3 separate regions of the Homo sapiens genome follow, and all the other regions are linked to region 3. The links are contacts of gene promoters, found by promoter capture Hi-C in blood cells and fetal thymus (Javierre and others, 2016). All regions are on one chromosome and are shown on one strand. Each heading gives the region's core, a stretch centred on a gene start or on the middle of the fragment in contact. The rest is flanking DNA. Distances are from core to core; before and after follow the strand shown. Region 1 overlaps PIK3C2G (phosphatidylinositol-4-phosphate 3-kinase catalytic subunit type 2 gamma). Region 2 overlaps PIK3C2G (phosphatidylinositol-4-phosphate 3-kinase catalytic subunit type 2 gamma). Region 3 holds the start of PLEKHA5 (pleckstrin homology domain containing A5).

Region 1 (2,974 bases), core at 48-2,547, 700 kb before region 3:
TGTTTGTAAGAATATGAAAAAAGAGAAATAAAACAGGAAGGAGTTTTCTTTAACTTTTAAGTCCAGGGTCACACGTGTAGGTTTGTTACATAGGTAAACATGTGTCATGGGGATTTATTGTGCAGATTATTTCATCACCCAGGTATTAAGCCTATGACCTATTAGTTATTGTTCCTGATCCTCTAAGGGGGGAGATTCAAAAGTGCCTACATCCCCTTAAAACAAATAAAAATTAAGAATCAGGCAACATGCACTAAGCATAAAATAATATTAATTATATTTAAAATATATCAGAGTTAAAAAATATAGCTCAAGCCAAGCATCATATTTAGGGAGTGACTGCTTCTGTGCAAAATGTTTGTGTTAAAACTTTAAAGATGCAGCTCCCATCTCACGATTCATGAAAAAAAAATACTCAAAATATCTTTCCTTAAAAAAAAGTCTTATTTAAAAAAAAAAAAAACTAGAAACCCATCAGTCATGAGTTTATGAGATTTTTTTTCACGTGGATGAATTACTGCTTCCTCAGATTCACCATATTCAAAACTGAACTAAATATCCTGTCTTGCTCACACAGGTCTTGAGGTCTTCCTTGTTTCTCACTAACATGACCAATTATTCACCAAGCCCTATAACTCTATATATCCTCAACAGCGCTCCCTGCTCCACAACTTCCACCTGTCACTATCAGTGATCAGAAAGTTGCCTCACCAGATACTGAGCTATGAATAAGTAAGATTGGAATGAAAACCATCTTGACTACTTGGCATCACTGTGGGTAGCCTTTCTGAGAGGTGAAATTGACTTAGGCTCACGTGAGTCTCTTCCACTGGAAGAGTGAATGTAGGATGAATAGCCCCTATTTTCCAAGGCAAGTGAGTTAACTAGAAGCTTTGTGTTTGAATTTAAAAGCTTTACCTCACAGTTTGCATCCTAAAAGGTGGCTATAAATGGGAACCATAACATTTGGAGCTTATGCCCAGGAGGCCCCTCCCCCATTATGTAACAATTAATTACAAAAGCTTAAATGTAGTGCCCCTTTCCATTTGGAATAGGAAACACTTTAACCACTAGTCAAGTATTGAGTTGAGTGGTGGCCCCAAAGAAGATATGTCCACAGCCTAACCTCAGAAACCTGTGATTTGTGAATGTGACCTTATGGAGAAAAAGGGTCTTTGACGATAGAATTTAATTAAAGATCTTGAGATTAGTTCCCCCTGGATTATCAGGGTGAGCCCTGAATCCAATGCCAAGTGACCTAAAGAGAGGCAGAAGAGGAGAAGACACACACAGAGAGAAGGTCATGAAAAGGGAGGCATTGATTGCAGCCTCAAGCCAAGGAATGCCTAGAGCTACCATAAGCTGGAAGAGGCAAGGAAGGTTCTCCCCGGAGCCTTGGGAGAGAGCACAGCCCTGCTTACACCCTGATTTTGGACTTCTGGCCTCCAGAACTGTGAGAATACATTTCTGTTATCACTAGTTTGTGTTAACTTGTTACGGCAGCCACAGGAAAATAATATAACAGACTTTATGAAGGCTCTGAGTCAATTGCCTAGGATGTCACATCATCAGGAAGCTTTCCCTGACCCTCTCCCAGCCACCATCTGGGATTGAGTATTGCTTCCACATCATGTCAAACAGCATACTGTTCATGACTCTGCCAGACATCATATCACACTCCCTTGACACCACTGCTGCCCTGTCCCTTCCCCCTCTTAGTCCACAGAGTAGCTCAAGACAGCAATCATGTCACACTCTTCCATGTACCAATCCAGCACAGTATCTGAAACTCAGTAGATACTCAAAAAATGTTTTAAAAATTATGAATCCACAGAAATGTCTGTAAGGCCATCAATATTTTCACACACAGTACTGGAAATTCCATGGTACTCAGGGAATATGAAATTGGGCACTGTCAAAGGCACTGCTGTGCGCCTCTACCTGGCTGCTGCACCCACTCCCATCTGCTGCAGTGACTGCTAACAAAATACGGCCCCTTCTCTGGAGAATTAGCCTCTGATTCCACAGCCCCCTGGCCTACGAAGTGGGAAAATCTCTAAGATATAATTTACATTCCAGAGCCTCCCCATAAATCAGATCAAGGTTAGACTTGACCCGAGATCTCATCCTTGTTAATTCCTTTCCCTTCCCTATAATTCTGCTCTTACTCCCTCATAAGATTTTTCCTGAAGAGCACTTCTTCAGTAAATCACAAACAGTGAAATTCTGCCTCATGTCCTGTTCTAGAGAACCTGACCTACAATAAGTATTTCTTATGGAAGATAAAAATTTAAATATGTGTTTTTAGAAACTGGAGCATCAGTATGCTATGGGATACATCGTAGGTAGAACAACAGTATTGCAGTCTTTCCCACTCCTCCTACCAAGTCTGATTGAACAAACTCCAAGAGAGAACCAATTGGAATGAAAAACTGTCTGGTAGGAAACCATATTATAACACAGCTCCTTTTATAAGGTGTCACTTAAGGCACCTAATGCAAAAATCTCTTCAAAATGTTCCTTTCAAAGTATGGGGATAACCTGAAGTGAGGCTCCCATTTGCAAGCTCTATCAATGTAAGGATCTTTTTTCTGCTTTATTCACTGATATATCACAAGTACCTAGAACAGTACTTGGCACTTTATAGACATTCAATAATTTACTATTCAATGTATGAATAGGATTAAGTTTCCTGGACTCAGCTGTGCACATGCAGACTTATGTCGATAGGGGGTGGAGGAGAGCTGCTTCAGAGGTCAACTAAGAGCTGGCCTGGCTAAAGCAATTCCAGGAGATTGACCTGATCAGAAACGAGGCAATGGATATCACTAGTGAAACCAAAACTGGAGAAGAGGGAGAATGTGAGCAGAAGTCCAGGACAAACCAAGACAGGAGTTAGGGCCTAAGAACAAGTTGATGGAGCAGCATCTTCTGTACCAGTTGAGAAAACCACGAAATGAATTAAGCCAATGTT
Region 2 (2,975 bases), core at 221-2,720, 570 kb before region 3:
AAATAATGTTTTGTACTGCACTGTGCACCTGTAAATTCATAAGTGCAAACAACATCTTTAGAAATGGTGAACACTGGGATGAATAATGGGATCAGAGTCATATTTTAACTTTCTTAGCAAGTTTTGGCCTAACTTGATGTATAATAGTGGAAAAATTTGGAATTTATTCAAAAAAGTTTAAGACCAGAACAAGATAAATGGCCTTGAATCTTTATGAAATTGAAGGGAAAATTATTAAACATAATTGAAGTACATTTTTAACATTGAGGACATGGCAGATTAGTTGTAAAGAAGGCATTGCATGATCACTTTGATAGATGCCAACCCAGAAAAGTCATACTGGATTACATTCAACATCCATTCCTCCTGGAAAGTTTTAGTACACTCAGAATAGATCCAAGCTTAGATAAGCATCATACTTTCAAAAGTTAAAAATGATAAGCATTCTTATTAATGGTGGGGAAAAGATAGTATCTTCTATATTGATAATAAAGCTCTCTAATTAAACTTTGTTATGAAGTTATTTTTTCAAGTGAATAATACAATAATTAATACGATCCCAGAGAATTGACACACACACACACAAACAAATCAAAATAACAAGAATTTAGTAAAATAAGTGGTTACAAAGTAAACATTTAAGACTCAGTACTTTAAAAATTAAAAAGAAAATATATGATCACCTAAATAGATACAGAAAGTGTAGTTAATAAAATGTAGAACCATTCATTTAGGAAAAAAATAGAAATAGAAAAGAATGTCATTAACGTATAGCTAAAAACCTACAGAAAACATTACGCTTAACAGTAAACATTGAAAGTTTTTCCTTTGTAATCAGGAACACACCAAAAATGGTTGCTATCACCACTTCCATTTAATATTGAAGTGGAAGTTTCTTAGCAGTGCAGAGTGACAAAAACAGCCACTACCATTATTTGCAGGTTACATGACTGTGTACATACAAATTTCAAAAGAATATGCATATGTTGTTAGAATTAATAAGAGTTAAAGATCTACTCATATATTATCAAATATGAATTAAAAGTTAGTACAAGATAGCATTTATGCCATACAAAATATGCCAAACCAAAGAATAACTCCAACAAAAAATATGCAAGACCAAACTAAATAGAACGATATACCACATTCGTGAACTGAATGTCTTAATACTACAGAGATGTTAATATTCTCCAAATTGATTTCTAATTTACATACAGTACATTCAAAATCCTTACCTATTGGTTTTGTGTGTGGGTGAACTTGATAAGCTAATTCTAAAATATATTTAGGAGGCCAAAGGGCCTAGAATAGTGAAGAGCCCCCTAAAGAAAATGAGGTAAAATAATCATTCTTCTGGATTTCAAGATGTACTATAAAGTTCCAGCTATTTAGGATAGTATAATACTGACACAGAGATAGACAAAGAGATAAATGCAACAAAACGAGGAGGCCAGAAACAGTCTTGTGTATATACAGACCCTTGGTTTTGGACAAAGTTAAACAGTAAAGAAAAAAATGTCTTTGCAAGTTAAAAAATTGTTACATTAAACATTGTTCATCCCTATTTGGAGAAACCATATAGCCATTTAAAAATATGATTTAATGCTATGTTCTGAATTAGAAAGATTGTTCAGTCATTCAACAAATATTTTTGGATCACTTACTATGTACCAGTTACTATTAATTTTTCCCTGTAAAATATATTATTAAGTTAACAAAAACAAATTGCAACATTACATACAATTGTGATTCTTCTCTAACTCTCATCTCACACAAAGTCAAAGTTCTTATGCAATTGTGCCCTTTAGGTCTTTGATTCCCTTCTTTCTCTACTGACTTTGTGTCAGCCACACTGCTGCTCATTAAACACTCTAGTCATTCATCTGCCTCTGAGCTTGTGGACTAGCTGTTGCTTCTGCCTAAAATGCATTTCATCAGAATTCCCATGGCCTACTTTCATGGCAAGTTAAGGTCTTTGTCAAATCATTCAGCTCATCTTTCAGTGAGATGAGCACTTTTCAGTGGGCATCCTATTTAAAACTGTAAAGCTATTATCTACCCCCATACTTCCTCTCCTTATTTCCTATTTTCTTTTATAATACATATTACTTTATCAAATTCTATATTTTTACTTGATTAATTACCATCAGAATTTTAGATTATACAAACTCTAAAAGGGCGAAAAACTTCCATCTCTTCTGTTCATTGCTAAATCCCATCACCAGAATAGTACCTGGCATACAATAGGAATAAGGACAATGTGTGTGTCTATGTGTTTGCATGTCTGTATGTTTGCATGTCTCTGTGTTTGCACAAATATATAGAGAAAGTTCAAAAAAGAATGATGTCAAACTGCTTACAGTGGTTATTTCTGGGGAGGAGCACTGGCCTCCTGTGGAGAAAAGAAAAAGGGAACCTTCCACATTTTACTTTATATTTTCCTGTGTTGCTTGAATTATATATGCTAAAATGCCAAGTTTTTAAATGTCCCTAAATCTCTTACATACAACAGGCAAATCAACCAGGATAGCAAAATCCAAAAGCTTGGACAACATTTATGACAAAACTAGGCAACAAGGTATACCCTAAGAACCATACAATAAAAGCAGGTGGAGGCAAACCATTAAATTACAAGATTTGTGTCGTATGAGCATTTGGACAGAAGGAAGCTAAGGGAAACCACAGGTACTCTGGCTGACCTGAGAGCAGTACTCCAAAAGAGTCAACAGTTATTTGTTGGAAGCTGAGCAGGCTAATTTGAGAAAAGCAGTTGAAATTGGAAGTACTTTTTGCATACTCTATTTCACAGGCAAGGGTGAGGGTTCTGTGGCAAATATAAAAATATTAGGCAATCTATGAATTCTCAACTGGGGCTTTCTTCCAAAAAAAAAGGTCTCTCTCACACTGAAGAGAAACTGTTGGACATATAATCCAAATTGCATGGACAAGAGATAATATTAGCAAAGGGAAAATCA
Region 3 (2,847 bases), core at 287-2,786:
CTGTTGATACATCTGAGCTTAATCGTTTCTAGCTTTTCATTTAAAGTAAGGGACATGCAACTCTTCCTTTCACTTGGTCACTTAAAGGGCATTGTAGGGTTACTGGTTGGCCTAATTTCAATATTAGGCCATTATTATTAGACAATTATTAGTGTTTCATTTCAGGGAATATGGAGGCCCAAGATGAAGCAGAGAGACAGAGGAACAGCTGGTTGGTGGAGCAGTCAGAACACACACATTTATTAAGTCCCTGTCTTACATGGGCTCAGTTCATGGTGCCCTCAAAACAATTTCAACAGTAACATCAAAGATCACTGATTACAGATCACTATAACAGGTACAATAATGAAAAAGTTTGAAAGATTGCAAGAATTACCAAAATGTGCCACAGAGACATGTAGTGAGCAAATGCTGTTGAAAAACGGTGCTAGGACTTGCTTAATGCAGAGTTGCCACAAACCTTCAATTTGTAAGATGTGAAAGATCTGCAAACAGCAATAAAGTGAATCGCAGTAAAACAAAGTGGGCTTGTACAGCAAGGAGGTTATACAAATATACTTTTGAAATCCTACAGCCAGTTTGAATCCAGGCTTTGGCAGTTATTACTATGACTGGGCAAACTACTGTGTTTTTAAACTTCATTTTTCCTATCTGTAAAATGGGGATTTTTTATAGATTGTGTGTGTGTGTGTATATATACACACACACACACACATATATATATATACACACATATATATATAGTTGTTGTGAAGATTTAAAAATGTACACCGTCACAAGGACTCCATAAAATAAGCTATTATTGTAATCTATTGGAGACAGGGCAAGTAAAAATCCACACTGATGTTAAGTGAATCTTTAAAAACAAGTACCAGAAAAAGACGAGTTTTTATTTTATAAGATATGACCTAAGGGGCCTAGGAAGAGAAAAAACTTGTTTTGTCAAGTCTAAATCCACTCATATTTCATGGGGCCACGTATCACGTCCAACCTTTGATATCTGGCACACAACAAACAAACAGGAAAGGCCTTTCGTGTGCTTTAATAAAAACAGCTTTCCATTTTAAAACGATAAATATATTGGAAAAATCTGTTGGCTCTCCAACAGCTCTTATAAAACAAAGCTCAGACGCTGTGTTTTTGTTGTTTGAAAGAGAGAAATCAGGGGCTTGGGCATTATTAGGCTCCCTTTGATCGCGCCCTGGGATGGGAAGCCTTCGGGCAAAGCCCTGGGGGCAGGACGCGTTTTTTTTTTTTTTTTTTTTTTTTTTTAATCGATCCCGGAACCTTCGCGCGGCGGAGGGGGCGGGCGCGCCGCAGGGGCCCGAGGGAGGGGTCTGGGGCGCGGCGCCGCTTGCCCATCCCCCGAGCGCGCGGCGGGGCGGCCGGCCGGCGGCCGCCGGGATGCGGAGGGGCGGCGACGGGGGCCGGACCCTGCCGGGGCGGCGGGGCGGGCACCGCCCGAGGGGGTAGGGCGCGCGCGGGGGCGCGCCGGGCCGGGGAGGCGCGCTCGCTCCGCGCTCCCTTCGCTCGCTCGTTCCCTCCTCCCTCGGCAGCCGCGGCGGCAGCAGGAGAAGGCGGCGGCGGCGGCTAGGGATCAGACATGGCGGCGGATCTGAACCTGGAGTGGATCTCCCTGCCCCGGTCCTGGACTTACGGGATCACCAGGGGCGGCCGAGTCTTCTTCATCAAGTAAAGAGCCGGGGACGGCACGGGGGCCCGCGGGGGCGGGAGGGCAGGAGGCGGGCGGCTGGCGACACGGGGGAGAGCCCGGGTCTGTGCTCCTGCAGCCCCTCGGCTCGCCCCCGCGTCCCCTCTCACGCTCCGTGTCTGCCCCTTCTCTCACCCCTGCAGCGAGGAGGCCAAGAGCACCACCTGGCTGCACCCCGTCACCGGCGAGGCGGTGGTCACCGGACACCGGCGGCAGAGCACAGGTAACGCCGGGCCCAAACGGAGTTGGGCTCCGCCTGGAGGAGGCGGCAGAGCCCGGGCCGCCCGGCTCCCCGCAACCTGCCCCGCGCCGCGGGCCCCGGGAGGCGGCGAGGCGGGGCGGAGGCCGGGCGGGAGCGGCCGCAGGTAGAGGGGCCACGGGGACTCCGCCGCCGGGAGTTCTCTCCAGTCTCGGGGCGCCTCTTTCTCCTCAGCCTTTCATCAGCACTTGGAGACGGCGCCCTCTTCCTGCGCCTTCTCCCCCCATCCCAGCCTAGACGACCCTCGCGACCCTAGAGTGGCGACGCTCCCCTCCCTGAAACCTGGAGTCCTGAGTTTTTCCTCCGCGGCCGCTACTCACTCCCCGGTGACCCCCAGCTGCCGTCTTGCCCCCCAGCAATCTTCAGGCAGTCCTTACCCACTCCCCTCCCTGCAGCCCCGGACCCCGATCGCCCGCCGGGATAACGTAACCACATCCTCCCCCTCCTCCCAGGAGCGCTGCCTCCTGCCGTGCAGCTTCCTCCTCCTAGGTGGGACTTGTGGGTAGGTGGCTGATGAAGGAGGAGGAGGAGGAGGAGAGGAGTTCGGGGGTGCTGCGATCCTCTCTGTGACAGGGAACGGCTCGGGAAACGCTTGGCGCGTTCCCTCCTGCCACGGGAGGAGCAGCCGGAGCCGGAGGAGGCGTTCGCAGCCTCAGTTGCTGGCGATCCGGATCTAAAGTCCCCGCCAGCCGCACGGAGGTTGCACAGACTGCCAGGAGGCGGTGGGCGTGCGAGGGGGTGTCCCGTATGGGGGCACCCGGGCCCTGTTTGGAGGGAGTCCGTGGGGAAGCGGCTCTCTCGGGTGGCTTTGGGAGCTTGTTTGAATGCTAAGTGTGAGTGGAGCTGGAAAAGGCTCCTCGTAGTTTCTGTACTGGTC

The links. The method cuts DNA at HindIII sites, captures the fragments that hold promoters and counts their contacts. A CHiCAGO score of 5 or more calls a contact.
Region 1: a fragment that was not itself captured here is called in contact with the fragment with the promoter of PLEKHA5 in region 3 in 1 of 17 cell types (megakaryocytes); the score reaches 7.0 in megakaryocytes.
Region 2: a contact is called between a fragment that was not itself captured here and the fragment with the promoter of PLEKHA5 in region 3, in 1 of 17 cell types (megakaryocytes). The highest score is 5.2, in megakaryocytes.

Annotation. Positions count from the first base shown.
Region 1 is chr12:18,427,887-18,430,860 of GRCh38, forward strand. The region is part of intron 18 of PIK3C2G (phosphatidylinositol-4-phosphate 3-kinase catalytic subunit type 2 gamma); the gene reads left to right. All of the region lies in intron 2 of LOC124902891 (a long non-coding RNA gene), which reads right to left. Among named protein-coding and RNA genes, the nearest start is that of PIK3C2G, 170 kb to the left of the region's middle. The HindIII fragment of the contact is 554 bases long and covers 1,021-1,574 here.
Region 2 is chr12:18,556,737-18,559,711 of GRCh38, forward strand. The region is part of intron 26 of PIK3C2G (phosphatidylinositol-4-phosphate 3-kinase catalytic subunit type 2 gamma); the gene reads left to right. Among named protein-coding and RNA genes, the nearest start is that of PLCZ1, 180 kb to the right of the region's middle. The HindIII fragment of the contact is 2,142 bases long and covers 400-2,541 here.
Region 3 is chr12:19,128,197-19,131,043 of GRCh38, forward strand. PLEKHA5 (pleckstrin homology domain containing A5) reads left to right here and starts at 1,537. Exons shown (of 32, transcript NM_001256470.2): 1 at 1,537-1,692; 2 at 1,855-1,934. The coding sequence starts at 1,604. The HindIII fragment of the contact is 7,873 bases long and covers 1-2,847 here.